7 separate regions of the Homo sapiens genome follow, and all the other regions are linked to region 1. The links are contacts of gene promoters, found by promoter capture Hi-C in human tissues and cell types (Jung and others, 2019). All regions are on one chromosome and are shown on one strand. Each heading gives the region's core, a stretch centred on a gene start or on the middle of the fragment in contact. The rest is flanking DNA. Distances are from core to core; before and after follow the strand shown. Region 1 holds the start of UCK1 (uridine-cytidine kinase 1). Region 2 overlaps NUP214 (nucleoporin 214). Region 3 overlaps NUP214 (nucleoporin 214). Region 4 overlaps MED27 (mediator complex subunit 27). Region 5 overlaps NUP214 (nucleoporin 214). Region 6 has its middle 24 kb from the start of FAM78A. Region 7 overlaps NUP214 (nucleoporin 214).

Region 1 (3,987 bases), core at 1,252-3,751:
CTGGGATTACAGGCGTGAACCACTGCACCCGGCTGACTCATGCTTCTTTAAGGACACTCTTCGGCTGGGCACAGAGGCTCACACCTGTAATCCCAGCACTTTGGGAGGCTGAGGCAGGTGAATAGGAGTTCGAGACCAGCCTGGGCAACATGGCAAAACCCTGTCTCTATACTAAAAATACAAAAATTAGTCGGGCCTGGTGGCAGGTGCCTGTAGTCCCAGCTACTCGGGGAGGCTGAGGCAGGATAATTGCTTGAACTCGGGAGGCGGAGGTTGCGGTAAGCCAAGATTATGCCACTGCACTCCAGCCTGGGCAACAGAGCAAGATTCCGTCTCAAAACGAACAAAAAAAACCCATAAAAGTCACTCTTCTTCACAATATGGGGAGTTGGGGACCAGCTAGAGGTTTGGGGCTGGCCCTCTGCTTGGTGGTGGTTGGGATGGTCCCATAGGGGAGCCACTGTGGCCCAGAGGCCTGAGCCGTGTGGGCCCGGGCCTTGTTTACTGGACTGTGGGCTTCCTGGGTGCTGGGCCTGCTCCCAGGGAGTGGCTCCTTCCCAAAGCGTCCCTTTGCCTTGGGAGCGGAACCACGCAATAGCCTGACTGGCCCTGGCAGCCCATGCCTTGTGGCCAGTCACCAGAGAGGGCACACGAGACCCAGGCCAGGGGTATCAGGGACAGCCCCTGGTCAGACTCTGCTAGTTTCCCTGCCTTTCGCTACGTGGCTGGACCACAGGGGAAGAAATGGCAAGAAACCGTGTCTAACTCTCCCTTGATACAAATTCAAAGTTGGCTTGGGGGATGGCCACCTTTGGGACACACACCTGGACAGATCTAAGCCAGCAGCGTGGCTGTTTGCTAGGCACTGTTCTGTGCCTGGGGCTTAATTTACAGAGGTACGGCTGAATGACCATGAGGAGAGGCCAAAGCCATCGCAAGATTGATCGCATTTCCTGAGAGAAGGGGCACCCATGCCATGCACGGTTCTCAGTAGAGAACCCCAGGTTTGGTCAGGAGGCAGAAGCAGGGGCGAGGGGAGAGCCCAGGCCTGAGGCTTTCTTGGGGTTTCCATGGAAAAGGCCTGGCAGGGCAGGGAAAGAGTTTAAAATTGGCTAGTTTGAGTAATTCTAGCAGGCTCTGGGCTGCAGAGTGGTCTCTAGTCACCTGATACCTGGCCCTGGGTGACTTAGGGCAGGGAGAATCTTGCCTCCAAAGGCGAGAATTAGATAAGGAGGTAGCTGGGGCTGTAGACTTGGGGTCTTTTTTTTTTTTTTTTTTTTTTTTGAGACAGAGTCTCACTCTTTCCCCCAGGCCGGAGTGCAGTAGCGTGATCTTGGCTCACTGCAAGCTCCACCTCCCGGGTTCACACCATTCTCCTGCCTCAGCCTCCCGAGTAGCTGGGACCACAGGCGCCCGCCACCATGCCCGGCTAATTTTTTGTATTTTTAGTAGAGACGGGGTTTCACCATGTTAGCCAGGATGGTCTCGATCTCCTGACCTCGTGATCCACCCGCCTCGGCCTCCCAAAGTGCTGGGATTACAGGTGTGAGCCACCGCGTCCGCCCGGGGTTGTCTGTTTTGTATATGAAAAGCATGCTCTGCCCCGAGCCTTAGCTATCTCTCTCTCTTTTTTATTTTTGAGACGGAGTCTTGCTCTGTGGCCCAGGCTGGAGTGCAGTGGCACCATCTCGGCTCACTGCAACCTCCACCTCCCGGGTTCAAGCGATTCTCCTGCCTCAGCCTCCCAAGTAGCTGGGATTACAGGCGCCCGCCACCACGCCCAGCTGATTTGTTGCATTTTTAGTAGAGGCGGGGTTTCACCGTGTTCGCCAGGATGGTCTCGATCTCCTGACCTCGTGATCTACCCGCCTCAGCCTCCAAAAGTGTTGGGATTACAGGCGTGAGCCACCGCGCCCGGCTGGAAATCCATAATTTCAATGGATCAGAATTTGCCTGTCACGTTCTCTGTGCCAGGCACGGAGCGGGGGGGCGGCAGGGATGGAACCCGGCACATGGGCCTCTGCCTCCTTGGCGCGCTGTAGGCGCGAGCCTAAAGTCATCAGGCGACAGCCCCCGCCACGTTCCGGGGCGCCCCGACGGCTCCAGCAGCGGGTGGGGTGGGAGGCGTCCGGACAGTCCGGAGGCCTCGATGGCCAAGAGGAGCCTGGGCTGGAGGGGGCCAGGCCCGGGGGCGGCCGGGGGAGGGCCCGGGACTGGCGCAGAGGCAGCGCGAGGCAGAGGCAAGCACTCGGACGAAGGCGCAGCCCCAGCCTCGGGGTGCGGAACGGGCACCTTCCGGGCCACTTGAGTCTGAGACCTTGTAGCCGGCTCGAGGCCCGGGCGCAGCAGTCCCTGCCAGCCAGCTTTCGGCGCAATGGGACGCGGGCGCTCCTGGTGTGCCGGCCTCGGGCCCTGCACCCTCACGCATGCGCGGCCCCCCCCCCCCCGGTGGACTACAACTCCCGGCGTGCCCCGCGCGCCTCCCGGAAGTGATCGCTCCGGTTGCCTCCGACCTCGGCGCTGGGCGGGCGCGCCGGGCCTGGGGAAGGGGCGGGCGCGGGGACCCGATGCGCGGGAGCGGAGGCCGAGATGGCTTCGGCGGGAGGCGAAGACTGCGAGAGCCCCGCGCCGGAGGCCGACCGTCCGCACCAGCGGCCCTTCCTGATAGGGGTGAGCGGCGGCACTGCCAGCGGGAAGGTAAGGGGCCGAGCGGGCCGGGGTCTCGCCTCTCGCCGGTGCCTACGGGCGGCCCGGTCCAGAGAGGAGACCCCAGCCCCGGCCGAGGGGCCCCCTGCCAGGCAGGGGCAGGGCGCGGGAGCGAAGGGGCTGCAGGCCGCGATGGGCCGGGGCGGGCTGGGGCGGGCGAGGGGTTGGGGCGCTGGGCCTCGGGGCTCCCCCACAGCCTCTCCGCCGGCCGGGCTCCTCGGAGCCCCAAGTCCGTGCTAACCCCGTTGGGCCCCCGCGGCCCTTCCGCTGAGACCATCCACACCTGTTGGTGTCCTCCCGCCTTCCGAGCATACCCCCCAGGGGGCGGGTGGGTCAGTGTCTCCAGAAGCCGGCCCCGTGCCTGTCACAGGACGAGCGGTTCCAGGCGGGAATCCCGCTTCTGTGTCTCCAGTCGACCGTGTGTGAGAAGATCATGGAGTTGCTGGGACAGAACGAGGTGGAACAGCGGCAGCGGAAGGTGGTCATCCTGAGCCAGGACAGGTTCTACAAGGTCCTGACGGCAGAGCAGAAGGCCAAGGCCTTGAAAGGACAGTACAATTTTGACCATCCAGGTAAATCGCGAGCCCAACGATGTGGGGAGGGCAGACCCCATTCTGGGCGGCCGCTAACCAGCTGCGCTTGGGCCCAAGGTTGGATGGATGCAGACCCGCTTGGGCTGTTCCCCCAACTCGCCACGCAGCCTGCAGTGGAGTTGGCTGCACAGTGAAGTCAGGGGAACTTTGCTGAGTTCTCTGGGCCCTGAGTGTCCCCCCAGGAGCGTGGTTGGAGCCAGTCAGGAAGCCTGTTGCACTGTGGGGAGCCCTGCCCTGCCCTGCCACAACTGTGATCCTGGAGAAATCCTCCCATCTTCCCTTCCCACGTTGGGGCCTTTAGGGCCCTCCACACACACCTCTGCCCACTGTGCCCTCCCGTGCTTTGGGGCAAAGTCCTCAGAGAGGCCAGTGTGGGAGGCGGTAGGTAAACTAGTGCTGGTGGCTTGAAGCTCCGGGCCAGGTAAACGGGCAGATGCGGCAGGGAGACACCTGCCACTGCTAGAAGATTCCACCCTGGCTGGCTGGCATGGTCAGCCTTTTCCCAAGGACTTGTGGGAAGAAGGCCTGCAAAGCCGCAGTCTAACCAGTTAGTCCCAGAAAGAGAGAGAAGCAGAGGCCCAGCCTACCCACCTCCCAGGAAGAGCTGATCAGAAAACCCCTGTGTTCCGGCATCTCAGGGGCACAGAGCTTGGGCAGTGGCACAGCCCGAGAACAGCAAGGACAGGGT
Region 2 (4,014 bases), core at 1,124-3,623, 360 kb after region 1:
AAAGTGCTCCTTTTGAGATCAAGGAGAGCTACACGACACTTTTACGCTGCACTGGAGGTTCTAGCCAGTGAAGTAAGGTAAAATAATAATAATAATAATAATGATAATAATAATAACAAAAGGACTGGAAAGGCAGAAACGTCACCATTAGTATCCATGGAGGATTTCATTGTTTCCATAGTTACAAGGCCAAGAAACAGCTACAGACGTGTTAGAATAAATGAATTCTGCCAGGTTGTTGGCTGTAAGTAAATACACATAAATCAATGGTATTTCTCGATACTACATCCAACATAAACCATAAAATTTAAGGAAAAAAAATCTACCATTATAAGAGCAACAAATTTTTGCAATTAAATTTTTAGCAATTAATCTAACAAAAGATGTGCATGTCTCCCACGCAGAAAACATTAAGAGAAATTAAAGAACACCCAAATATACAAATATGTACCCAGTTCAGGAACTGAGAGTTCACTACTGCACAAATGTCAATTCTCAAGTTGATCTAGAGACTCAATACAATTCCAATCAAAATCTCAACTTTCCTTTGAAGGCTGAGGAAGGCAAAATTCCTCCCCCAAAACTTTCTTTTTTTAAAGACGGAGTTTCGCTCTTGTTGCCCAAGCTGGAGTGCAACGGCATGATCTCGGCTCACTGCGACCTCTGCCTCCCGGGTTCAAGCGATTCTCCTGCCTCCCTTCTTTTTTATTTATTTATTTTTTTATTGTGGTAAAATATACATGACATAAAATGCACCATAGTCACATTTTAAAGTGTACAGTTCCATGGCATAAATACATTCCTAATGTTGTATAACCGTGACTACCATCTATCTCCAGAACGTTTTCATCTTCCCGAACTGAAACTTCATCCCCATGAAACACTAACTCCCCATTTTCCCTCCTCCAGCTTCCGGCAGCCACCATTCTAGTTCTGTCTCTATAGTTTTGACTACTCTAGGTACAGGGAGGTAGAATTTAACAAGACAATTTTAAGGTTAATATGAAAATGTAAAACACCAAGAAAGGCAAAACATTCTAGAGCAGGAGTCAGAAAACTACAACCATAGACCAGCTGTCTCTTTGCAGAAATATAAAGTTTTGCTGAAACACAGACATGCCCCTCTCATCACATGGTCTGTGGCTGCTTTCCCATTACAACAGCAGAGTTAGGTAGGTGCAATGGAAACCACAGCACCTGCAAACCTCAACTATTCTCCAGCTGGCCCCTTACAGAAAAATCTGCCAACCCCTACTCTGAATTGTAGAACTTTCTGCAATGATGAAATGTTCTTTATACGTGTTTGCCATTACAGTAGCCATTAGTCACATGTGCCTACTGAGCACTTGAAATGTGGCTACTGGGATTGCAAAACTAAATTTTAAATGTTACTTATTTTTCTTTTTAAAATTTATATATTTATCTGAGACAGGGTCTCACCACTCCTTTCCCAGGCTGGCCTCGAACTCTTGGGCTCAAGTGATCCTCCTGCCTCAGCCTCCTCAAAACAGCTGGGATTACAGGCATGCACCACCTTGCCTTGCAATTTTATTTAATTTAAATGTAAGCAGAGGCTGGGCGTGGTGGCTCACACCTGTAATCCGAGCACTTTGGGAGTCTGAGGCAGGCGGATCACAAGGTCAGGAGATCGAGACCATCCTGGCCAACACGGTGAAACCCCCATCTCTACTAAAAATACAAAAAAATTAGCTGGGCTTGGTGGCACGCAGCTGTAGTCCCAGCTACTTAAGAAGCTGAGGCAGGAGAATTGCTTGAACCCAGGAGGCAGAGGTTGCAGTGAGCTGAGATCATGCCACTGCACTCCAGCCTGGCAACAGAGCGAGATTCTGTCTCCAAAAAAAAAAAAAAAACAAAAAAAAACAAAGTAAGCAGAATACCATATTGGACAGAACACCTCTAGAATCTAGCAAGAGAACAGTATTGAGACTTATTTGAGCACTAATTAAGGCAGTGTGGCAGTAGTGCTTTCTAATCAGTGTATGAGACCAACAAACATACATGTATAGGGATAAACGATTTATAATAAAAGTGGCCCTGCTAAGCAGGGAGGAGAGTCTTTTCAATAAATAGTGTTAGGACAAGCAGATATCCAAACACAAAAAAATGACACATGAGCCATACCTTATATCACACACAAAAATCAATTATTGATAGGGTGAACTAAATATATCTATACAGTGGAATACTGTTCAATGACAAAATGGAATGAACTAATGATACATGGTACATATCATGGGTGAACAACAAAAACATGCTAAGTGAAAGAACCTAAACCCAAACACTATCAGACTCCATAATATATGCAATTTCTTTAAAAAGGCAGATCCAAGAAGAAAGAAAGCAGATCAGTGGTTGCTTGGGTAGAACAAGAATTGACTGCAAACAAGCTTGGGGAAACTTTTTAAGTGATGGAAATGTTCTAGAACTGAAATGTGGTGATGGGTATACAATTCTGTAAACTTAGTAAAAAGCACCCAGCTACCAGCAGGTGAGTTTTATATGTAAATTATACCTCAATAAAGTTGATCCAATTGTGAAAGACAAACTTAAATGTTTCTGGAAGATAATAAAGGTGCATACCTACTTTCATTACCTAGAGATAGAGGATTTCTTAAACAGAACACAAAAAGTACTAACTATAAAAGAAAAGGCTGATAAATCTCACTATTTTACAATTAAGAACTTCTGCTCACCAGGCTGGGCACAGTTGCTCACATCTGTAATCCCAGCGCTTTGGGAAGCTGAGGCAGGAAGATCACGTAAGGCCAGGAGTTCAAGATCAGCCTGAGCAATACAGCAAGACCATGTTCCTACAAAAACTAAAAAAATTATCTGGGCATGGTGGCCTGGCCTGTGCCTATAGTCCCAGCTACTCAGGAGGCTGAGGCAGGAGGATCGCTTCAGCCACGGAGGTTGGGGCTGCAGTGAGCTATGACTGCACCACTACACTCCAGCCTGGGCAACAGAGCAAGAGTCTGTTTCTAAAAACAAAAACAAAAACGAACTTCTGTTCACCAAGACATAATTAAGAGGACAAAAAGGCAAAGTGAGTATCTGCAACTCACAAAACCAACAAAGGCTGGTCTCCAGAATTGATAAAAACATGTACAAATCAATAAGACAGAGTATTCAATAATAAATGAATGAGCAAAAGATTTAATTCGGTACTCCACAAAAGAACATATCCAAATGGTTAAAACATTTTACAAAAGAGTCCTACCAGAATAGTTAAAAGAAAAAAGACCGACAATATCAAGTTTGGCAAAGATGTGGAACAACTGTAACACTCATTTACTGATGATAAAGTACAACCACTTAGTAAAACCGCCTGGCAGAGTCTATGAAAGCTGAGCATATGGACAGACTATGAGCCAACAATGCCACTCCTAGCTATGTAACCAAATGAAAAGTACACATGTGCTCCGAGAGACACACACGGGAATATTCAGAACCTTTTCTGTAATAGCTATAAACTGAAAGCAGCACATGTCCAACAGGAAAATGAATAAACAAATACAGCATATTCATACAATAGAATCCTATACAGAGCAACTAAAATAACAGCTAGAGGCAACAACACGGATGGATCTTACAAGCCTGATGTGGAACAAGAGAAGCCTGTCCAGAGACTAAGTGAATGGATTTATGTGGTATGCAAAAACAGGCAAAACCAAATCATAGTGTTTTGGGAGGTATGCTTACATAGTAAAGCTCTGAAGGAAAACAAAGAAAAGGCGACTAAAGAGAATGACAACTTACACAATGCAGAATCCTGGATTGGATCCTAGATCCAATCAACGTGTAGGGGTAAGTGGGACAGCCGGCAAAATTTGAGTATCAACTGTATATGAGATAACTGTATACGTTAAATTTCCTGAACCTGCAAACTGTATTATGGTGTGTAAGAGAGCACCTTTGTTCTTGGGAGGACACATGCTGAAATATTTAGGAATAAGGGGCGTTGTCTTCAGCTTATTCTCAGATAGTTCAGCA
Region 3 (3,586 bases), core at 164-2,663, 340 kb after region 1:
GCCATTTTAAGTTATGGTAAACTAAGGAACAGAGGCAAGTTTGAGAACTTAAATAGGCAAGTCCTGATATCCAGTCTCAAATTCTGATCTCTAACACAAACTACTCATCTCAGAGACAGATGTAAGAGTAGTGAGAGAAACCAGAACTTCTTAGGAAGAGTTTCAGCACTAGCCTGACTGACCTTCCAACCATCCCCTATCACTTTTTTCTGGATTGTTTAACTGTTTGCAATATCACCTATTTTTCTAAGGGACAATGTTTATCAGGCAAAAGCCTGAAGCTAGACAAGCTAGACATAACATCACTAAAAATATGCAAACTCTGACAAACAGGGATTGCAGGAGAAAACCAGATAACCTATACCCCAGACATTGATACTCAACTGTGTAGTGAAACGAGCAATGGACAGGAGGAAGTCAGAAGCCTTGGGTCCCAGCTCTGGTTCCACCATTTACTAATCGTGAGAGTTTGCGTTGGTCACTCAAGCCTAGGCTGCCTCACCAGTGAGACATATCTAAACACCTATCCTCCCACTGTACACGGCTGTTGTATGGGTTAACTGAGATAATGTGAAAGTAAACTGCAAAGCAAAATACTTCATATAAAAATGTATGGTATTAGAATTATGACCCCAAATTACTAGGTGCAGAATGTTTAAATGGCCTATGAAGACAGTATCAGGTCCTGACTGACCTACCCTGATTAACAGCCATGTCAAGACTGGCATAAATTGTGGGGAAGGGATTATGGGCCTTTATCAGACTTATGGTTCATTTAAACAAAGTCAAGACTTAAAAACAGTATGGTCTTCACTTACAAAGACAGACACGGCATGAATGTTAAAAGTAAAACTCAGGCCGGGTACGGTGGCTCACACCTGTAATCCCAGCACTTTGGGAGGCCGAGGCAGATGGATCATCTGAGGTCAGGAGCTCGAGACTAGCCTGGCCAACGCGGTGAAACCGCGTCTCTACTAAAACTACAAAAATTGACTGGGCATGGTGGTGGGTGCCTGTAATCCCAACTACTCAGGAGGCTGAGCCACGAGAATCACTTGAACCCAGGAGGCAGAGGTTGCGGTGAGCCAAGATCGCACCACTGCACTTGAGCCTGGGCGACAGAGTAAGACTCTGTCTCAAAAAAAAAAAAAAAAAAAAAGTAAAAATCAGTAAGTTACCTGCTTGGCTTGGTTAGCAGCCACTGGGGTCAACACTGGGTGAGGTGTTTTGGCTGTGGAGTAGGGCACTGAAGAACTGAAAAACACACAAAGCATACACTCAGAGAAAGGCATGACTAGGTAAAAATCACATTCATTCTCAAGCCAACCTTCTGTCCAATATACAATACCAGTTTTGGGTAGGATACAGATGCATGGGACCCCAATACAACTGATTTGACATTTTTTTTGAAGGATAAATTTTAAAAATGAACTTTGGGTTTTTAGCATGAAAGTCAAAGCAGTGGCCTTATAACTTATTTCCTTTCTGCAATCCAAAGAAAAAAATTAGTAACCATTCAGAACTAGATCTTTTTGCTATCCAGAGTATAAGCCCTCCTCCTCCCTGGCCCTTCCCCCTGTTGTAGACCACGAGAAATTCCTGATTCTCTTACCCAAGCAGGCTCTATGGGAAGCATTCTCACTGCCACCTATGCATCCAATTCGCTGCTACCGCAAAGGTGCTATCCAAAGAGATCTTAGCTTCTCACAGCAGCTATCTCCAGGGCTCACCAGGTCAGCATCCAAGGGATTCAAATGTACCACTGTTCCATTCCCAACCTGCATCTTTGCTACAGCATGAAAAGTATACCCCTATTCGCAGAAAGAGCTCTCATCATCTTTTGTTAACTCTGAAGTAGGTGAATACTGTATGTGAGGAACTGTTATTTCAATAACTAGTGTTCACATATGGGAAAACTACCTGTTAGTGTAATCACACACAAAAGTTCTTGGCTCCTAGCGGCAATTTTTTCAATTTATCTGTTGTCAGCCCAGCGCTACTCTGACTGGTATATATAGCAGTAGTAGTTGTAGGACCTGGTTATTTTTCAGAACTCCCCTAGATTTAGGGAGGATTCATATTTTCCATCAAAAATGAACTTAGAAGATAAAAGATAGGCCTGTGCCTCACGGAAGAAAATTATCAAACAGCTTAACAAACCTTACAAGCATATTGAGATTCTCTGCTGGAATAACAAGGGGACCTTCCTAAACAGACTTTATTAGATTGAGAGAGAAGAAAAAGTGAACTTATGTTCAATGAAACAAAACCCGTTTCATGCTTCTACTGAAGCCAGAAGCAGCTATAAATATGCATCTCTCTGGAGAAACACATCTCTGTTCCCCTGAGATAGTTTACCAAGCAGGCAATACAGATACAGTGTTCCCCCGTCACCTCCGCTGAATCTGTACCAGAGGAAAAGAATGTGTGAGTGAGACTGCTGGGCCCTGAGCAGTACCTGGACAGACACAGCAGACTTGCTTAGAGAAGAGGTTGGAGCTCACAAGGATTACAAAGGAAAGGAAACTCTTTCATGCTTTCTCAAAGACAAACAGAAATCAGAAATAAAAATAAAAGCAGCAATTTATCCAAATTTTAGAAAATTTTTTACAGCCAGAATTCAATTGTGACATGATAGTAAATTATGCATGAATAAGACTGAGTGTAATTATTATTCTATTTATTTGTGATAATTCTATGTATCTCCTGAGTATCCTAAATCCCCAAATACACAAAATTAGGATTCACAGTACCTACACACCACGTGACACCCCTGCAAAGAAATGCTGTTCAGTGCAATCAGCCAGTAAACCAATTAACAAACCAGATCCAATAAATCTCTTATCAAGATCCAAGACAGCACACAGAAAAAAACAGTATACTCTCAAACAAATATGTTCAAACGTTTTTGCATGAGCATGAACCAAAACAATGGAAATCAATAGCTAGAAATGATCAAGAGATAGAAAAGCCAAATTCAGAAGTATCCATATCTTAGGTGACTTTATTCCACTTTTTAGCAATATGGAGTTGAAAAATATCAGAAATTCATCTTGATATTTGTTCTAAGAAGAAAATGGTGCTATAACAGAGCCCCAAAGAGACATCTCTTTACTGAGTGAGTCTACAAATGACACTGACATTGCCAGCAACACTAAAGTTCCTGCTTCAGAAATGAGCGACAGAGGCACAGATCACTAAGAGTCTGGAAACTCGGGTTCTTGGAGAAAAATAAAACACAGAAGAGTCATTTTTTTCTGTTTTTGGCCACACATTACCAGCACTACATGCCAACAGAGGCAGACAAATGCACACATGTTCCATGGATGTGTACTCTACACACAATTATAAAATTGGGTTGTGAAGCATTAAAATGTCACCTAGGCCCTTTGCTATTGATCCCTCCAACTTTAATGAACTTCAACAAGGTAAATACTCATCCCATTGTTGTAAAAAGCCTCAACTTCTTGTAACTTATTTCAGGATTTTAAAAAGCATAAAAAACAAGAGACCTGGTTATGTTTTATTTTGGTAAATCTTAATCACTATCACATGTATCTTTTCATACATACTCATATATGAGAGA
Region 4 (4,147 bases), core at 777-3,276, 430 kb before region 1:
GACCAGCCTGACCAACATGAAGAAACCTCGTCTCTACTAAAAAAAAAAAAAAAATACAAAATTAGCTGGGCTTGGTGGTGCATGCCTGTCATCCCAGCTACTTAGAAGGCTGAAGCAGGAGAATTGCTTGAACCCGGGAGGCCGAGGTTGCAGTGAGCTGAGATCGTGCCATTGCACTCCAGCCTGGGCAACAAGAGCGAAACTCCATCTCAAAACTTAAAAAAAAAAAAAAAAGATTCATGAGAGGAAAGTGTTTTCTGAGCTGGAGACTCTGCCGTAAGTGCAACCTGATAATGAAAGCAGAAGTAATCACTTTAAAATCTATACTTCAGTTTAATTTTAAAATTATCCATTTGCAAGTAGCCATTGAGCATTTTTTGTTGATTCACAGTGGTGGTGTCATGGGGGATACATTTAAGAGAGATTTATTGGGAAGGTACAGTTCCGAAAATTGTACCATGCATTTCTGAAAATTTTGAATTAACACCCACAAATTGGAATGGCCTAGAGTTTATATTTTGAATAAACTTATGGCATATTTATTCAAGCACAAAGATTTTTGTACAGAGTAAAGAACAGTGTAAGAAAGTATTCAATTACTGATAGAACATTAATGATAGCTACTGCATATCAAGCACATATCATATGCTAGACCCTGTGCCAAGCACATTACATGCATGGTTATTTAGCGATGCTGTGAGTGAAATAGTATTGTTCCTCTTTATCAGATGAAGAAACTGAGATACAAGAAAGTTAATGCCACACAGCTAGTGAAGAGTGAAGATGGTCATAGCTCTGGTGAGCATCCAGATAGTACTTGCTACGTGCTAGAGTCCAAGTACTCTGCATTTTTTTAGTCATTGAGTCTTCCAGAATTCCTGTGAGGTTGATATTATTAGGTATTTTTTGTAAAGGAGGAAACTGAAGCACAGAGAGGTTAAGTGACTTGGCTAGGGTCACATAGCTAGCTCAGGTCCTGCCAGAGCAAGGACTTGAACTTGGGCACTGAAGCGTCGGGAGTCCGGGTCCTTGTCCACTAGATCATGCCACCCAGCATCAGTATAGTGACTGACAGACTCCAAAGCTCTTGCTTTCAACCATTTCATTAAAAGTGATACTAGAAGAGTACAAGGGATCCTAAGTAAAGACATTTTAAACTTGTTGTTTTTTATGTTAGGGATAACATTGGGTTTTTAGCCATATAGCATGTAACCTGAAATTCAGCACAAATAAAGCTTCCTCTTGCCTGGTCTGTGAAATCTTGAGTTTAGGGACCATTAGTGGAAATACACTTCCTTTTCCTTTTCCCTTTCCTTTCCTTTTTTTTTTTTTTTTTGTGACAGGGTCTGGCTCTTTTGCCTGGGCTGGAGTGCAGTGGCACAATTATGGCTTACTGCAGCCCTCCTGGGATCAAGTGATCCTCCTGTCCCAGCCTTCTGAGTAGCTGGGACTACAGGCACATGCCACCATGCCTGGCAAATCAGTTGCTTTTGGTTTTGTTTTGTTTTTTTTTTTTTTTTAAAGAAACAGGCTCTCACTGTGTTTCCCAGACTGATCTCGAATGCCTGGCCTCAAGCAATCCTCCCACCTCAGCCTTTCAAAGTGCTGGAATTACAGGTGTGAGCCACCACCCCTGGCCAAAATGCAGTCTTTATTCTTAGGCGTCAGACCATACTGCAAGGTGGAAGTCCTCTCTGGGATGCGCATGGTTGCGAGCACTAAAGACTCCCGGGTCTCTGAAGGTCACCTGCTGTCTTGCTGATGCTTGGTTACTTTCCAATGGTGCGTTATATTTTGCAAAACAATACTCTGAAAAAGTGTTAATTTAAAAAGAGAATTCCCAGCGGGTGGTGGTGGTGATACAGGTCTAAAGTTAGTGACATGTTTTTATCAAAAATTTGAAATAACATTTATCAAGAAAGGGGAACAGCCTAGGGTCTGTTAAGTGGAATCCTTTATTTTTTGTTCAAGAAAAAGTGAGGTGATGCCTTGCAACATAAGGTATCCCAGGACTTTAATCGACATGTAGACTCCTAAGAGGCAAAGCCAGACTTTCATCTCACTCAGCTCTGCTGTGGTGTCACCAGAGAGCCGGTGGCTCTGAACCATAAGTGACAGAGAAGGACCAAGAGCAACAGATCCAGCATCACTGCCTCTCCTTGTGGTTATTGAGCTGATCTCTTGGAAAGTCTTTAGTGGCTTTTCAACTTGAAAAGAACAGATTTGAAATAAATAAATTGATCCATTAACCTGTTACAGGAAGGTTCCCACTGTGCTGAGTACCCCCAAATCATCTCTGATAAGGTTGACTAAGCCACACTCTAATAGATTTCAGAGTAGTATGTGGACCGTAAAATGACCATTAACCAGCTTGCTTTGTTCATGAGAGTCAGGCACTTAATGCCATGGCCTCGCGCTAGAAGCACATTCCACTGTGGTATGTTTCAACTCTGTGAAGTCATTGATCAGATGAAAATGACCAGTTAGCAAGTAAGTGTTTCCTGGGCTGTAGGCTTTATGAATAATGTGTTCGTCAGTTAAAATCAGCACTTTAAGCAATTGTTTAAACCTAACCATTTGGGAATGAGGGAGAGAGCTTCATGAATAATTTATTTTCAGAAGAAAAGATTAAGGGATCTGAACTTTTTCACCTTCCCAAACCTTTTTGACTTAAGTGAAACTACCTGCAAATGCTGTAAATCCAGATAAATAAAAGTCATAATGCATACACAATGTATGTAAGTTTATTGTACTTTCACTTTTAAAAAGCCTTTATTGAAAAGGTGTAGGCATGTAAATACAATGAGTTTAAAATAAGAACTGAGTATGGAATTGCTGGAAGGGTTGTGGGATTTTAGATGTAGCGTTGAACATGCATTAGCATAGTACCATGGGAAAGCTTAAAATATGGGTAATATGTCCTTGTATCGGAAAGGACTTCATCAAAGCAGACCAGTTTGATCCCTTGTGCTTAAACATTATGCCTTCCACTTTCTAAAACAGACCGCTGTCTTATAAGAATTGCACGTCCTTGGTTCAAGGTTTAAGTAAGAGAATTTAGGATGGGGGTTAGGTATCAATATCACCAATCCAAATTCTCCTTGCCGCCTTCTTTCTCTTGTTCTTATGTTATTGAAAATACCCAGTTTTGTATTTGTGGTCCTGTCTGATACTTGGCTAGAGTGATTTGTCTTAGTGGCTGAAATTTTCATTGACCATCTTGGCAGTGAAGGAGTTACTGAAGGCACAAAGGAGCCTGAATATTACTTCACAGGCATAATACCAACACTACCACCACCACCACCATCACTATCACCTCCAGCATCACCACCACCATCACCATCACTACTACCATCACCTCTACCATCACCTCCACCACCACCACCATCACCTCCACCACCAGCACCAGCACCACCACAATCGCTATCAACCACCACCATCACTGCTGGCAGCTGTTATTTATTGAGTGATTACTCTGTCAGACACTGTTCTAAGCACTTAACACTGATTACCTTATTTAATCCTAACAACCTTCTGAACTAGGTGCAACTACAATCTTCATTTTATGAATGAGGAAACTGATGCTCAGAGTGATTAATTACTTCCCCAGGTTCACTGGAGCCCATATTTTTAACCCTTTCAGCTTCTATACCACCTTCTCCACTCTCCTCACAATCAGATCAGTACTTACTCTGGGTGGGTAGTCAACATCATAGAAGGGCACACTCACTTATTCACTATTCATTTTTTAACCCCCGTAATAAATTGGAACGCAGTCAAGAACCAAGAAGTATGGAGAGGAGGCCTAACCGAAAGTGCTGTTATGGGTTTCCCATACTGTCAAAGACCCTCTCACAAAGCCCATTTTCTCCGGGTTGTCAGGGTAACGAATTTGGAAACATGCAGCGCACATACTAACAACAGCTAGGAGCCAATGCTTATATAACAAGAGAGGAGATGGACAGAACTATAAATATAAAGCACAGGAGCCGATGCTCATAACATTCACAAAAGTTAAGTTGTTTTCTCGTTAGGAATAAATGTAAGTATATCTTTGTTTTAAAAAGATACTCATAAAAATAGAAAAAATTAAGCGTAGGCATTCGAAGAGATAGGCATGAAGGATCTGAAACCTTTGCTAATGAGA
Region 5 (3,936 bases), core at 759-3,258, 320 kb after region 1:
TCTCACACAGCACAACAGATGAGAGAAACTTCATGTAGGGCACATTAAATGAGAGAAGCTGAGACAAACAGGACAGGCTCCCAACTTCTAATCTCAGCTTCCGCCTGAGCAGCAGGATAAAGATCTACACAAACAGATTTCTTTCATTTCCAACCATGAATACACAGGTCAACAAATAACTTTTAAGGCCGAGCACGGTGGCTCACGCCTGTAATCCCAGCACTTTGGGAGGCTGAGGTGGGCGGATCACCTGAGGTCAGGGGTTCGAGACCAGCCTGGCCAACATGGTAAAACCCCGTCTCTACTAAAAATACAAAAACTAGCCAGGCTTGGTGGCAGGTGCCTGTAATCCCAGCTACTCGGGAAGCTGAGCTGGGAGAATTGCTTGAACCTGGGAGGTTGCAGTGAGCCGAGATTGCACCACTGCACTCCAGCCTGGGTGACAGAGCAACACTCCGTTTCAAAAAAAAGGAAAAAAAAAAAAAAAGCCTGGGCGTGGTGGTTCACGCCTGTAATCCCAGCACTTTGGGAGGCCAAGGCAGGCGGATCATGAGGTCAGGAGATCGAGACCTCCTGGCTAACATGGTGAAACCCCGTCTCTACTAAAAAAAATATAAAAAATTAGCCGGGCTTGGTGGCGGGCACCTGTAATCCCAGCTATTCAGGACGCTGAGGCAGGACAATGGCATGAACCCGGGAAGTGGAGCTTGCAGTGAGCCAAGATCACGCCACTGCACTCCAGCCTTGGTGACAGAGCAAGACTCTGTCTCAAAAAGAAAAAAGAAAAAAAAAAAAAAAAGAATTTTTAAAATTAGCTAAAGAAGGCTGGGCATGGTGGCTCATACCTGTAATCCCAGCACTTTGGGAGGCCGAGGCGGGCGGAGAAGTTTGAGACCAGCCTGGTCAACATGGTGAAACCCTGTCTCTACTAAAAATATAAAAATCAGCCAGGCGTGATAGCACGTGCCTGTAATCCCAGCTACCTGGGAGGCTAAGGCAGGAGAATCATTTGAACCTGGGAGGCGGAGGTTGTAGTGAGCTGAGATCACGCCATTGCACACCAGCCTGGGCAACAAGAGTGAAACTCTGTCTCAAAAAAAAAAAAAAAAAAAAAATTAGCTAAAGAAAGTACTGGCAGATACAGCTTCAGATGAAAATAAAACAAAAATGTAAGAGGTGAGAAATATTAAAGGCTTCAACTTTTGGGTGACATCTCCCTACAGGAGCTGAATTTTAAGGAAAATTTGGAGAGTACTATCCAAATGAAAGTCTGCATGCTCTCCTCCCAGCATCCTCGGCTTGCTCTGCTGCTGCTCATTTATGCTTGTCTGCTTGCATTCACTTCAAGTCACTCCAATACTAAGAAACAGAGCGATTTGGGCCTTGGGAGAGAAGAGGGGAGCAGCTCAATACACAGATCCTCTCCCTGCAGCTCTGATATCTTTTCATGATTATATAGGACATCTCATTAAAAAACCAAAAATAAAAAAGCAAAACAGATCACACTGCTTTGGGGAAGATATTTTAAATGAGCCTTCTAGATTTTTTTTTCTTTTTATATTTGTCACTGAAGCTTTGATAACACCCTAAGAATGACAATGGCATTAGGGGACCAAGGGACTGGGAAAAGTCTTCTCAACTTACTTGAGGTAGCTGTGGATCCAAAGCCCCCACTGGCCGAGCTGAATGGGTTTTTGTTGGCTGCATCCTGACTGGGTTTTCCTCCAAGGCCACTGAAGAAACCTCCCCCTCTTCCAGTGTTTCCAGACCCAAACACGCTACCACTGGAAGAGGATGATTGCTAAAAAACAAAAGGGTCAGGAAGCAAGATAGGATGAGAGGTCATCGTGAAATGGCAGGCTGCATCCGTGGGCAGGAGGTGCTCACAGCTGGCACAAATGGAAAAAGCAAGATTAGTTCTGGTACAAATGCTCTAACCACCACAAAAGAAGCTAGACTCTGGACAGGGACTTCCTATCTATGAGAAGTTCTCAAGCTATTCCATGTTCACAGTTCTCTGAAAACATGATTTATGGTAGGTGGGAACTTTTAATGTTTATCTGCTACACTGCCCGCAGTGTCTGTTTGACACAATGCCAGGGTCAGGAAAACCAACCCCACAAGAGATCCACCAAATAAAAAGTTCGAAAACATTTACAAGCTATTACGGACACCACTTATTCTGATTCCTCCAGCGTTTGGCTGAACTCATTAGCAATGGATGATAAGTGATTTTCACTGTCTTTCTCTCCATTTGTGCACTTTTATTTCATAATGACTTTCCCAGTGCTGCAGAAGTAAGCTTAAATTAGCTTCATTGTTGAAATGATGACCAAAGCTGAATTCTGTCCAAGTTTGCAAATCTCATGCTCAGAGGATGCTGCTAGCACAGGGGCAAATGCTGACTCGAGGCTGTGTCAGGTCCCAGACACTTAACTTCTCTGGAAGCTGGTTCTTAAAGAACAACTGGGCTACATTTGAGGGGCCATTCACCTTAGTTAAGTGTCATCTCTCCGTGGCTGAGAATGCAGAATAAGATGGACTTTGGAAAGGGGCCACTGTGCATAGAAACTTGCAAGAGCAGAGCGGTGCTATGGATCCTCTCCTGTAAAATGGTGGTAATAAACTACCCATCTCAACACAGCGGAGAGTGAATTACGTGAGCCAAGAAATGTAACACACTTTAGAACAGAGCCTGAAACAGACTTATATGCTCAAAAAATGGTTGCTGTTCAGTGTTTTAACCACAATGAACCAAAAATCAAGCACTCTGTATGTGCTAGGCACATTCCTAAGTATTTTCTAAGTAATCACTTAATCTCTACTCATCAAACCTCCAGTGGGCCACTTCTGAAATGCCCCCCACCCCCTAGGGTATCCCCTCCTTTCTACTCTGGTCTGAGCCACCTAACCCCAACCTTTTGCCCAGACTATGCAACAACTTAGCTGGTCTTTTGCTCCCACTACAGTCTACGTCCACACAGCAGCTGGAGCACTACTTGCAATGGCAGTCACATCATTTCACTCCTGTCTACCAATTCTAGAAGGCCCAACATGATCTGTCCCTTTTCCACTGCTCTGACATCATCTTTTATCATCCTCCCCCTCACTCAGGGCAGTCACACATATCTTCTGTGCCTCAAATACAACAAGCTAATTTCTGTCTTAGGGTAACATACTTAATGTACTTCCTAGTCTCTTTTTTTTCCCCCTTTAAATTTCTTAACAACAACAACAACAACAACAACAACAACAACAACAGTACCAATTCACTACAACCATTTAATGGTGAGTCACAGCTTTTAAAAACTAGGAATCCAATTCAGTCCTAACAGCATTGGCCCTGATAACTAGTAAACTGCCATGGAAAGTTAGAAAACCTAACAATGAATGCATGCATGTGGAAGGTATTTGACTGCTTAGCTGACGTCCATGCATCAGGCTGAAACACAGAAAATTGCCAGTATATGAGCATTTTGCCTGAAAAAGCTCAGAAACCTCAAATGGTTCAGCTTAATTTTTAAAATGTGATTTGACAGGCTGGGTGCAGCGGCTCATGCCCATAATGCCAGCACTTTGGGAGGCCGAGGCAGGTGGATCACCTGAGGTCGGGAGCTCAAGACCAGCCTGACCAACATGGAGAAACCCTGTCTCTACTAAAAATACAAAATTAGCTGGGCGTGGTGGTGCATTCCTATAATCCCAGCTACCTGGGAGGCTGAGGCAGGAGAATCGCTTGAACCCGGGAGGCAGAGGTTGCAGTGAGCCAGTATAGTGCCATTGAACTTCAGTCTGGGCAACAAGAGCGAAACACCGTCAAAAAAAAAAAAAAAAGTGATTTGATAAATAATGGCTTCCCATGAAAATGAAGTAGATCACTAACATATTTTACTGAAGTCAACATGAATTGATAGTTATTGCATCCTCATAAATGGG
Region 6 (3,779 bases), core at 174-2,673, 280 kb after region 1:
CTCAGCCTCCTGACTAGCTGGGATTACAGGCGCTCCACGCCACGCCCGGCTAATTTTTATATTTTTAGTAGAGATGGGGTTTCACCACGTTGGCCAGGCTGGTCTCGAACTCCTGACCTCAGTGATCTGCCCGCCTCGGCCTCCCAAAGTGCTGGGATTACAGGCTTGAGCCACTGCGCCCGGCCGATGGAAACTACTAAATGCAAGCGAACACGTCGGAGTGAATGAACTCCATCTCTGTGCCTGTGTGCAGGGAGGTGAACCCGAAATCAACATGGGAACTGGCGAAGGCCAGCCCAGCTCCCTTCAGGCCCAGACGGCACGACTTGGAATGCAGAGGCAGGATTAGTTCCTGTATCAGCCTGAGCCCTGGTTCTTATTTCATGTTCCCTTTTCAATCAGACAGAAGAAGGGTGGGTGTTTACGGCGGGCCAGACACAGCTGGGAGCCCTGCACTATTCCTGGCTGCCACTTGCCTTGCTGAGTGAGGCCAGGCTTGTCGCTCAACCTCACATGCCTGAGTTTCCTAATCGTCAGGCCAGAGACACGCACACTTACCCTGTCCTCCCCGGTCCGGGGCCCAGCAAAGGCATAGCAGTTGTGCTCCGTGTTAAACATGCAAATGGAGCCCCCAGAATAATCACACTGAGCACCAGGGCTTAGCTCAGAGACCAGGGACTCTTCTCTCTAAATACGGCTCAATTCTTCTGCAACATCTAGACCACAGGGGCCTGGCTTAGTGATGTGGGATTCTCAGCATCCATGACAAATGCAGACTGAATGCTGGTCAGACAGTCACACAAACGTATTAAAATGCTTTACCTCAGCTTTATTGGGATACAGTTCACATACCACACAACTCACCTATTTAAAGTACGGTTCTGGCTGGGTGTGGTGGCTCCTGCCTGTAATCCCAGCACTTTGGGAGGCCAAGGCGGGCAGATCACCTGAAGTCAGGAGTTCAAGACCAGCCTGGTCAACATGGCGAACTCCTGTCTCTACTGAAAAAAATACAAAAATTAGCAGGGCATGGTGGCACACGCCTGTAATCCCAGTTACTCAGGAGGCTGAGGCAGGTGAATCACTTGAACCTGAGAGGTAGAGGTTACAGTGAGATTGCACCACTGCACTCCAGCCTGGGTGACAAAGACTCCATTTAAAAAAAAAAAAAAAAGTGTACGGTTCTGGCCGGTGCAGTGGCTCCTGCCTGTAATCCCAGCACTCTGGGAGACCGAAGTGGGAGGATCTTGGGCTCAGGAGTTTGAGACCAGCCTGGGCAACATAGTGAGACCCCATCTCTACAAAAAAACTTAAAAATTAGCCAGGCATAGGCCAGACTCAGTGGCTCATGCCTGTAATCCCAGCACTCTGGGAGGCTGAGGCAGGTGGATCACAAGGTCAGGAGTTCAAGACCAGCTTGGCCAAGAGGGAGAAACCCTGTCTCTACTAAAAATACAAAAATTAGCTGAGTGTGATGGCGGGCGCCTGTAACCCCAGCTACTCGGGAGGCTGAGTCAGAGAATTGCTTGAACCCGGGAGGCAGAGGTTGCAGTGAGCCGAGATTGTGCCACTGCACTCCAGCCTGGGTGACAGAGTGAGACTCCATCTCAAAAAGCTAACAACAACAACAAAAATTAGCTGGGCGCGGTGGCACATTCTCGTCATCCCAGCTACTCAGGAGAATGAGGTGGGAGGTCGAGGCTGCAGCGAGCCCTGATCGTGCCACCGCACTCCAGCTGGGCGACAGTGAGTCCCTGTCTCACAAAATAAAAGCAAATAGAAAGTGTACGGTTCTATGGTTTTAGTATATTCACAGATACGTACAATCACCTTGGCCCAGTTGGGCTCTAGAATAAAGTAACCATAGACCGGATGCCTCGTCAACCACAGAAACCAATCCTTCACAGTTCTGGAGGCTGGAAGTCCAAGATGAAGGCGCCCACAGTTTCTGCGTGGTGAGGGCCACCTCCTGGTTCACAGAAGCGCCTCCTCGCTGTGCGGTCATGTGACGGAGGCCGGAAGGCAGGTCCCACAGCCTCTGGGGAAGGAGAGCCCAGAGTAGCTGAGGAACTGGGGTGCCCACACCAGCCTGCTGGGGGCTTCAAATGTTCTTTTAGGAGTGACAAGGGAATCGACCTGCCCAGCTCTGCAGCCCTGGGGGCCACAGAGGACCGGGGCACAGCCGGCGCCTCTGCTCAGGGCTCCGGCCTCCATCTCTGGGAGCGAGCACCCGTGGATGCCTCACTCCACCCAGGGTCACTGTCGCGCAGCAGCAGCTTTCCAGAAGGCAGCCGGCCATTGACGAGTGACCAGGCGGAGACGGTGAAGGCCAGAAGTTCCTCCAGAGGCCGCGTGCCAGCCCCTCGCCTGTGAGGGGGGCCTGGGTCTCCGGGCTCCCCAGGACGGTGCTTCCTCTTGCAGCTGGGCCTGGAGGCCGGAGAGGGTCATGTGAGCCCTCCTGGGCGGGCGGTGCCTCTACGGCTGTGACCTTGAGCAAGTCCCCCTCCTCTCAGGTCTCGGTTTCCTAGGACATGGAGTGGGGACGGAGGTGGTTCCTCACCTCACGAGATTGCGGAGGCACGTGAAGCCGATGGTCCTGAGCTTCTGGACAAGTGCCCAGCCCAGAGTAAGCGCTTAGCAAATCCGAGTGATTCGGCGGCACCACTGAGCCTCGGTTTCCTCATCTGCAAGACAGGGTTACGCTTTCCTCACAGGGAGGAGGGTTCCGGGGGGTCATCAGGCAAGGCCCTCAGCACAGAACCGCCAATAGCTAACACCTATTATTGACCTTGTTGTAACAGGATGATAAAATGGTTTTCTTGACTGGGCGCCACGGCTCATGCCTGTAATCCCACCACTTTGGGAGGCCAAGGCAGGAGGATTACTTGAGCCCAGGAGTGGAGACCAGCCTGGGCAACATAGTAAGACCCTGATCTCTACAAAAAATAGAAAAAATTAGCCCAGCGTGATGGGGCATGCCTGTAATCCCAGCTCCTCCGGAGGCTGAGTCAGGAGGATTGCTTGAGCCCAGGAGTTCAAGGCTGCAGTGAGCTGTGATTGCACCACTGCACTCCAGCCTGGGTCACACAGCGAGACCCGATCCCTGCCCCACCCCCCACCGCCCAAAAAGCTTTTATTTGCTGCCCCAATTTTAGCTGAGACTTTGAGAGGACAAAACAATACAAGGGGTGAGGTCCCCCACCCCACAGGCCATCTTGCTGGACATGCTTTGAGGCTGTGCAGCGCCGTGGCCGGCATCTGTCCCGGGCCCACTTGGTATAAATGAGGCAGATAGATGAGGTGGGTGGAAGAAAGGCCCCTGGCCGAGCTGCTCATGTGGACCACGTGTCCCTTGGAGGGTGGGCTGCCTCCTTCCTGGTTGCAGCCTGACCGAGGTGGGCAGCCAGTGCCTAAGGTTTGATCCGTGTTAACCGCAATCACTGTCATTGGACTCATCATCAAAAGCATAGGTGCGGCCGGGTGCGGTGGCTCACGCCTATAATCCCAGCACTTTGAAAGGCCGCGGCGGGTGGATCACCTGAAGTGAGGAGTTCGAGACCAGCCTGGCCAACATGGTGAAACCCCATCTCTACTAAAAATACAAAAATTAGCCAGGGTGGTGGCAGGCTCCTGTAATCTCAGCTACTCAGGAGGCTGAAGTAGGAGAATTGCTGGAACCCGGGAGGCGGAGGTTGCAGTGAGCCGAGATTTCGCCATTGCACTCCAGCCCAGGCAAAAACAGCGAGACTCTGTCCCAAAAAAAAGGCATAGGTACATGT
Region 7 (3,603 bases), core at 46-2,545, 380 kb after region 1:
CAGGTAGAGGTGAACAAGTAGATGAGGGCCCAACTCTTATGGAACTTACCTCCTACTGGGACATGTTGAATAATAAAATATAAACACATCTGATAATTTCAGTTGGAGAACAAACAGGGAAACATAAAGAGAATAAAAAAGGGCACTACTTCAGATGAGATGGCCAAGAAAGCCCTCACTGCGGGCTGCCATCTGAACGGAGGCTGCAAGCAGAAAGCAAGCTATGAGATCTTCAGGAAGCACCTGCCAGGCACCAAGAAAGGCAAGTGCAGAGGTCTCAAGGCAGGAGAAACCTTAGCAAAGAAAAAAAGTAAATGTGGGCTCTGTGAAGTCAGGGGAGGCGTTGTAGAGGGCAGGGGTAGAGTCAGGAAGGCAGGCCGGGGTAGGTCATATAAGGTCACACCAAGGAGTTTGGGTTCTATTCTAAACGTGTTGGAAAGCTACTACTGGTGTTTTACAAGAGTTTAAATCTCCTTTATGATTTAAAAGATCCCTCTTGCTGCTATGTAGAGCAGGGATAGCAGAGAGAGTAGTCGAGAGGTTAACAAGGTGAGAGGTGCAACAGCTTGACACAGGATGCTAGCAGGGGGACAGAGCTGTGGGCTTATGACATGTGACACAGCAGAGGGTGGAGCTGACAAGACCTCCCGCCAGCCTGGACTGGGGACAGGTACTGTTAAAGAGAGGGATCTAGGATGCTTCGGGGCTTGGGGCTTGTGCAAACATCTGGTTTGTTAGTGCTACTTACCCATTGGAAAAGGACTAGCCTCTAGGGGAGACAGAAATCAAGAGTTCTGCTTTAAAGATACTATAATTTGAAATGCCCTTTAGACTATTTGATACTTACAACGATTAACACTAGAGAGGTCTTAGACTGCATCAGCATTCATTAACAGCAAACATTTATTTGACAAACACTGTATGTCATGCATCATGCCACACCGTGAACTGTGACCTGGGCACTTACTATGTACCTAGTACAGGTGTGTGTTAGGGTACAAGGGTTGGTTAGAGGGACACAGAAAGGAAAAGACATAACGCTTATTCTCAGGGCACTCAAGTAATCACGTGGGAAACTGACATACAATTCTCTTTACATTATACCATAAAAATAAACTGAGATGATGGACTACAAATCTAAATATGAAAGATAAAATAATAAAGCTTTTAGAAAAACATCTTTTTGACCTTGAAATAGAAAATTATTTCTAAAACATGAAAAGCATTAATCATAAAAGAAAAAACTGATATACTTAATTATATTAAAATGAAGAATGTGTATTCATCAAAGAAACAAAAAAGACAATGAATAGACAATTCACAGTGAGAACATATTTGCACTGTATGTGTGTGCGTGTGTGTGTGTATTCAAGGAACTCACTCTTAAAAATCAGAAGGAAAAAGCCAGACAATCCAACAGAAAAACAGAATAAAGACATGAACAGACACAACATAAAAGAAAATATTCAAATGGCCAATAATCATCTTTTAAAAAGCTTAATTTTGCTAATCATTAGAGAAATACAAATTAAAACCACAAAACCATACAACAAAAGATGAAAAATACCAAGAGTGGCAAGTATGTGGAGCAGCCAGAAGTCTCATACACTCTTGGTGGGAATCTACTAATGAGGAATACATGCAGATTCTATGACCCAGCAATCTCACTCATAGGGATACACCCAAGAGAAACTTGCATATGTGTTCATTGAAGATGTCAACTGGAACGGTCATAGCAGTGCTACATACAATGGCTTAAACCTGGAAACTACTCAAGCGCCCATCAGAGTGGAACAAATAGTTGTAATATAATCACACAATAAATTCCATACAACGACATGGATAAATCTCACAAACATAATGTTGAACAAAGCAGCCAGATACAAGAATACATACTGTACAAATCCACTTGATAGGAGGTACAGGCAGGCTAACCTCATCTATGCTGTTGGAAATCAAATCAGCTACTCTTTGGCAAGAGTAGTGACTAGAAGGGGACAGGTGAAAAAGAACTCTGGGGTTCTGGCCTCCGCCTCCCGGGTTCAAGTGATTCTCATGCCTCAGCCTCCTCAGGAGCTGGGACTACAAGTACGTGCCACCACGCCCGGCTAATTTTTGCGTTTTTAGTAGAGACGGGGTTTCACCATGTCGACCAGGCTAGTCTCGAACTACTGGCCTCAGGTGATCCGCCCGCCTTGGCCTCCCAAAGTGCTGGGATTACAGGCATGACCCACTGTGCCCAGCCAGGTTCTCGTAAAATTCTGTTTCTTGATCTGGATGCTAGTTACCAAGGTATGTTCAGTTGTTGACAATTCACTGAGCTGTACATGTATCATGTGTACTTTTTTCTATTTGTATTATACATGAATAAAAAATTAAAATAGCTAAATGGCTTTTACGAGTATACAAGTATTCAAACCTCGCACTTTGGTATTTACTATCACATAGTCCCAATTACTATGTCCAAGGTCTGAATTATAAAACATGAAAACTCATTTTATTCATAGGTATGCTTGGGGCAGTAAATTAATAAACACAAACATTGCAAGCTGAATTTAAACATACCTGGGGAGAGCCTGGCTTTGCCGCTGGAGGGGTTATCCTGGGTGATTTCTGTACCATTGAGGGCACTGGGCTTGAACTGCCCTGAGCAGATCGTCCTGCTTGAAAAAGAAGTCAGTTAAAATAGATGGCATTTATTACCTTTATTTCTCCTATCACAAATGTCCTTTCTCCAAATCTAAGAAATTAAGTTACACATTGCCCCTGGCCCACTTTCATGATTTATTTTAAAGAGTGATGACCACCAGTTGTGCTAGCCTCTGTTCTAAGATAATGAAAAAAATATATTAAAATTTTAGGAGCCAGGTATGGTGGCTCAAACCTGTAATCCTAGCCTTTTGGGAGGCTGAGGCAGGAGGATTGCTTGAGCCCAGGAGTTTGAGACCAGCCTGAGCAACATGGCAAGACTTTGTCTCTACAAAAAAATTTAAAAATTAGCCGACGGTGGTGGTACATGCCTGTAGTCCCAGCTACTCAGGAGGCTAAGGTGGGAAGATCGCTTGAGCCCAGGAGGTAGAGGCTGCAGTGATGTGCTTGGGTGAGAGAGTGAGAGGGTCTCAAAAAACAAAACAAAACTTCCTGTTTACAGTATGACTGACTGTGAAAATATGAATATAATCACTGCAGGTACTCTCTCCTCTGTACTTTTTTTTTTTTTTGAGACAGAGTCTCGCTCTGTCGCCAGGCTGGAGAGCAGTGGCGTGATCTCGACTCCCTGCAATCTCTGCCTCCTAGGTTCAAGTGATTCTCCCGCCTCAGCCTCCTGAGTAGCTGGGATTACAGGCACCCACCACCACACCTGGCTAATTTTTGTATTTTTAGTAGAGATGGGGTTTTGCCATGTTGGCCAGGCTGGTCTCGAACTCCTAACCTCCGGTGATCCACCTGCCTTGGCCTCCCAAAGTGCTGGGTTTATAGGCGTGAGCCACCGCACCCCGCCAAACAACTCTTGTGCCTGTGCTTCTTAAAGAACTGTTATGTAACTGCTCTTCATGGAGGGCAGGCTCCATATGAAAATAAATGCCCAAGAGCAAGGCATTT

What was found. The method cuts DNA at HindIII sites, captures the fragments that hold promoters and counts their contacts. A contact is called where the count stands out against the background at its distance.
Region 2: a fragment that was not itself captured here is called in contact with the fragment with the promoter of UCK1 in region 1 in 2 of the 25 tissues and cell types used here (dorsolateral prefrontal cortex and spleen).
Region 3: a fragment that was not itself captured here is called in contact with the fragment with the promoter of UCK1 in region 1 in 2 of the 25 tissues and cell types used here (dorsolateral prefrontal cortex and spleen).
Region 4: a fragment that was not itself captured here is called in contact with the fragment with the promoter of UCK1 in region 1 in 4 of the 25 tissues and cell types used here (aorta, bladder, dorsolateral prefrontal cortex and 1 more).
Region 5: a contact is called between a fragment that was not itself captured here and the fragment with the promoter of UCK1 in region 1, in 3 of the 25 tissues and cell types used here (dorsolateral prefrontal cortex, hippocampus and spleen).
Region 6: a fragment that was not itself captured here is called in contact with the fragment with the promoter of UCK1 in region 1 in 4 of the 25 tissues and cell types used here (H1 embryonic stem cells, IMR-90 fibroblasts, aorta and 1 more).
Region 7: a contact is called between a fragment that was not itself captured here and the fragment with the promoter of UCK1 in region 1, in 4 of the 25 tissues and cell types used here (H1 embryonic stem cells, IMR-90 fibroblasts, dorsolateral prefrontal cortex and 1 more).

The regions. Positions count from the first base shown.
Region 1 is chr9:131,529,777-131,533,763 of GRCh38, reverse strand. It overlaps UCK1 (uridine-cytidine kinase 1), which reads left to right and starts at 2,501. Exons shown (of 7, transcript NM_031432.5): 1 at 2,501-2,697; 2 at 3,119-3,278. The coding sequence starts at 2,590. RefSeq lists silencers at 2,096-2,265, 2,406-2,765, 2,966-3,015 and an enhancer at 2,431-3,344. The HindIII fragment of the contact is 11,870 bases long and covers 1-3,987 here.
Region 2 is chr9:131,166,892-131,170,905 of GRCh38, reverse strand. All of the region lies in intron 21 of NUP214 (nucleoporin 214), which reads right to left. Among named protein-coding and RNA genes, the nearest start is that of NUP214, 43 kb to the right of the region's middle. The HindIII fragment of the contact is 5,096 bases long and covers 1-4,014 here.
Region 3 is chr9:131,184,957-131,188,542 of GRCh38, reverse strand. NUP214 (nucleoporin 214) reads right to left here. Exons shown (of 36, transcript NM_005085.4): 25 at 1,179-1,254. Among named protein-coding and RNA genes, the nearest start is that of NUP214, 61 kb to the right of the region's middle. The HindIII fragment of the contact is 5,069 bases long and covers 1-3,586 here.
Region 4 is chr9:131,963,573-131,967,719 of GRCh38, reverse strand. All of the region lies in intron 3 of MED27 (mediator complex subunit 27), which reads left to right. Among named protein-coding and RNA genes, the nearest start is that of MED27, 110 kb to the left of the region's middle. RefSeq lists an enhancer at 2,144-2,645. The HindIII fragment of the contact is 3,909 bases long and covers 72-3,980 here.
Region 5 is chr9:131,213,077-131,217,012 of GRCh38, reverse strand. NUP214 (nucleoporin 214) reads right to left here. Exons shown (of 36, transcript NM_005085.4): 31 at 1,645-1,801. Among named protein-coding and RNA genes, the nearest start is that of FAM78A, 61 kb to the left of the region's middle. The HindIII fragment of the contact is 4,973 bases long and covers 1-3,936 here.
Region 6 is chr9:131,250,954-131,254,732 of GRCh38, reverse strand. No RefSeq gene overlaps it. Among named protein-coding and RNA genes, the nearest start is that of FAM78A, 24 kb to the left of the region's middle. RefSeq lists enhancers at 350-851, 2,047-2,096 and a silencer at 1,803-2,119. The HindIII fragment of the contact is 9,598 bases long and covers 1-3,779 here.
Region 7 is chr9:131,146,547-131,150,149 of GRCh38, reverse strand. It overlaps NUP214 (nucleoporin 214), which reads right to left. Exons shown (of 36, transcript NM_005085.4): 14 at 2,566-2,660. Among named protein-coding and RNA genes, the nearest start is that of NUP214, 23 kb to the right of the region's middle. RefSeq lists a silencer at 74-368. The HindIII fragment of the contact is 3,709 bases long and covers 1-3,149 here.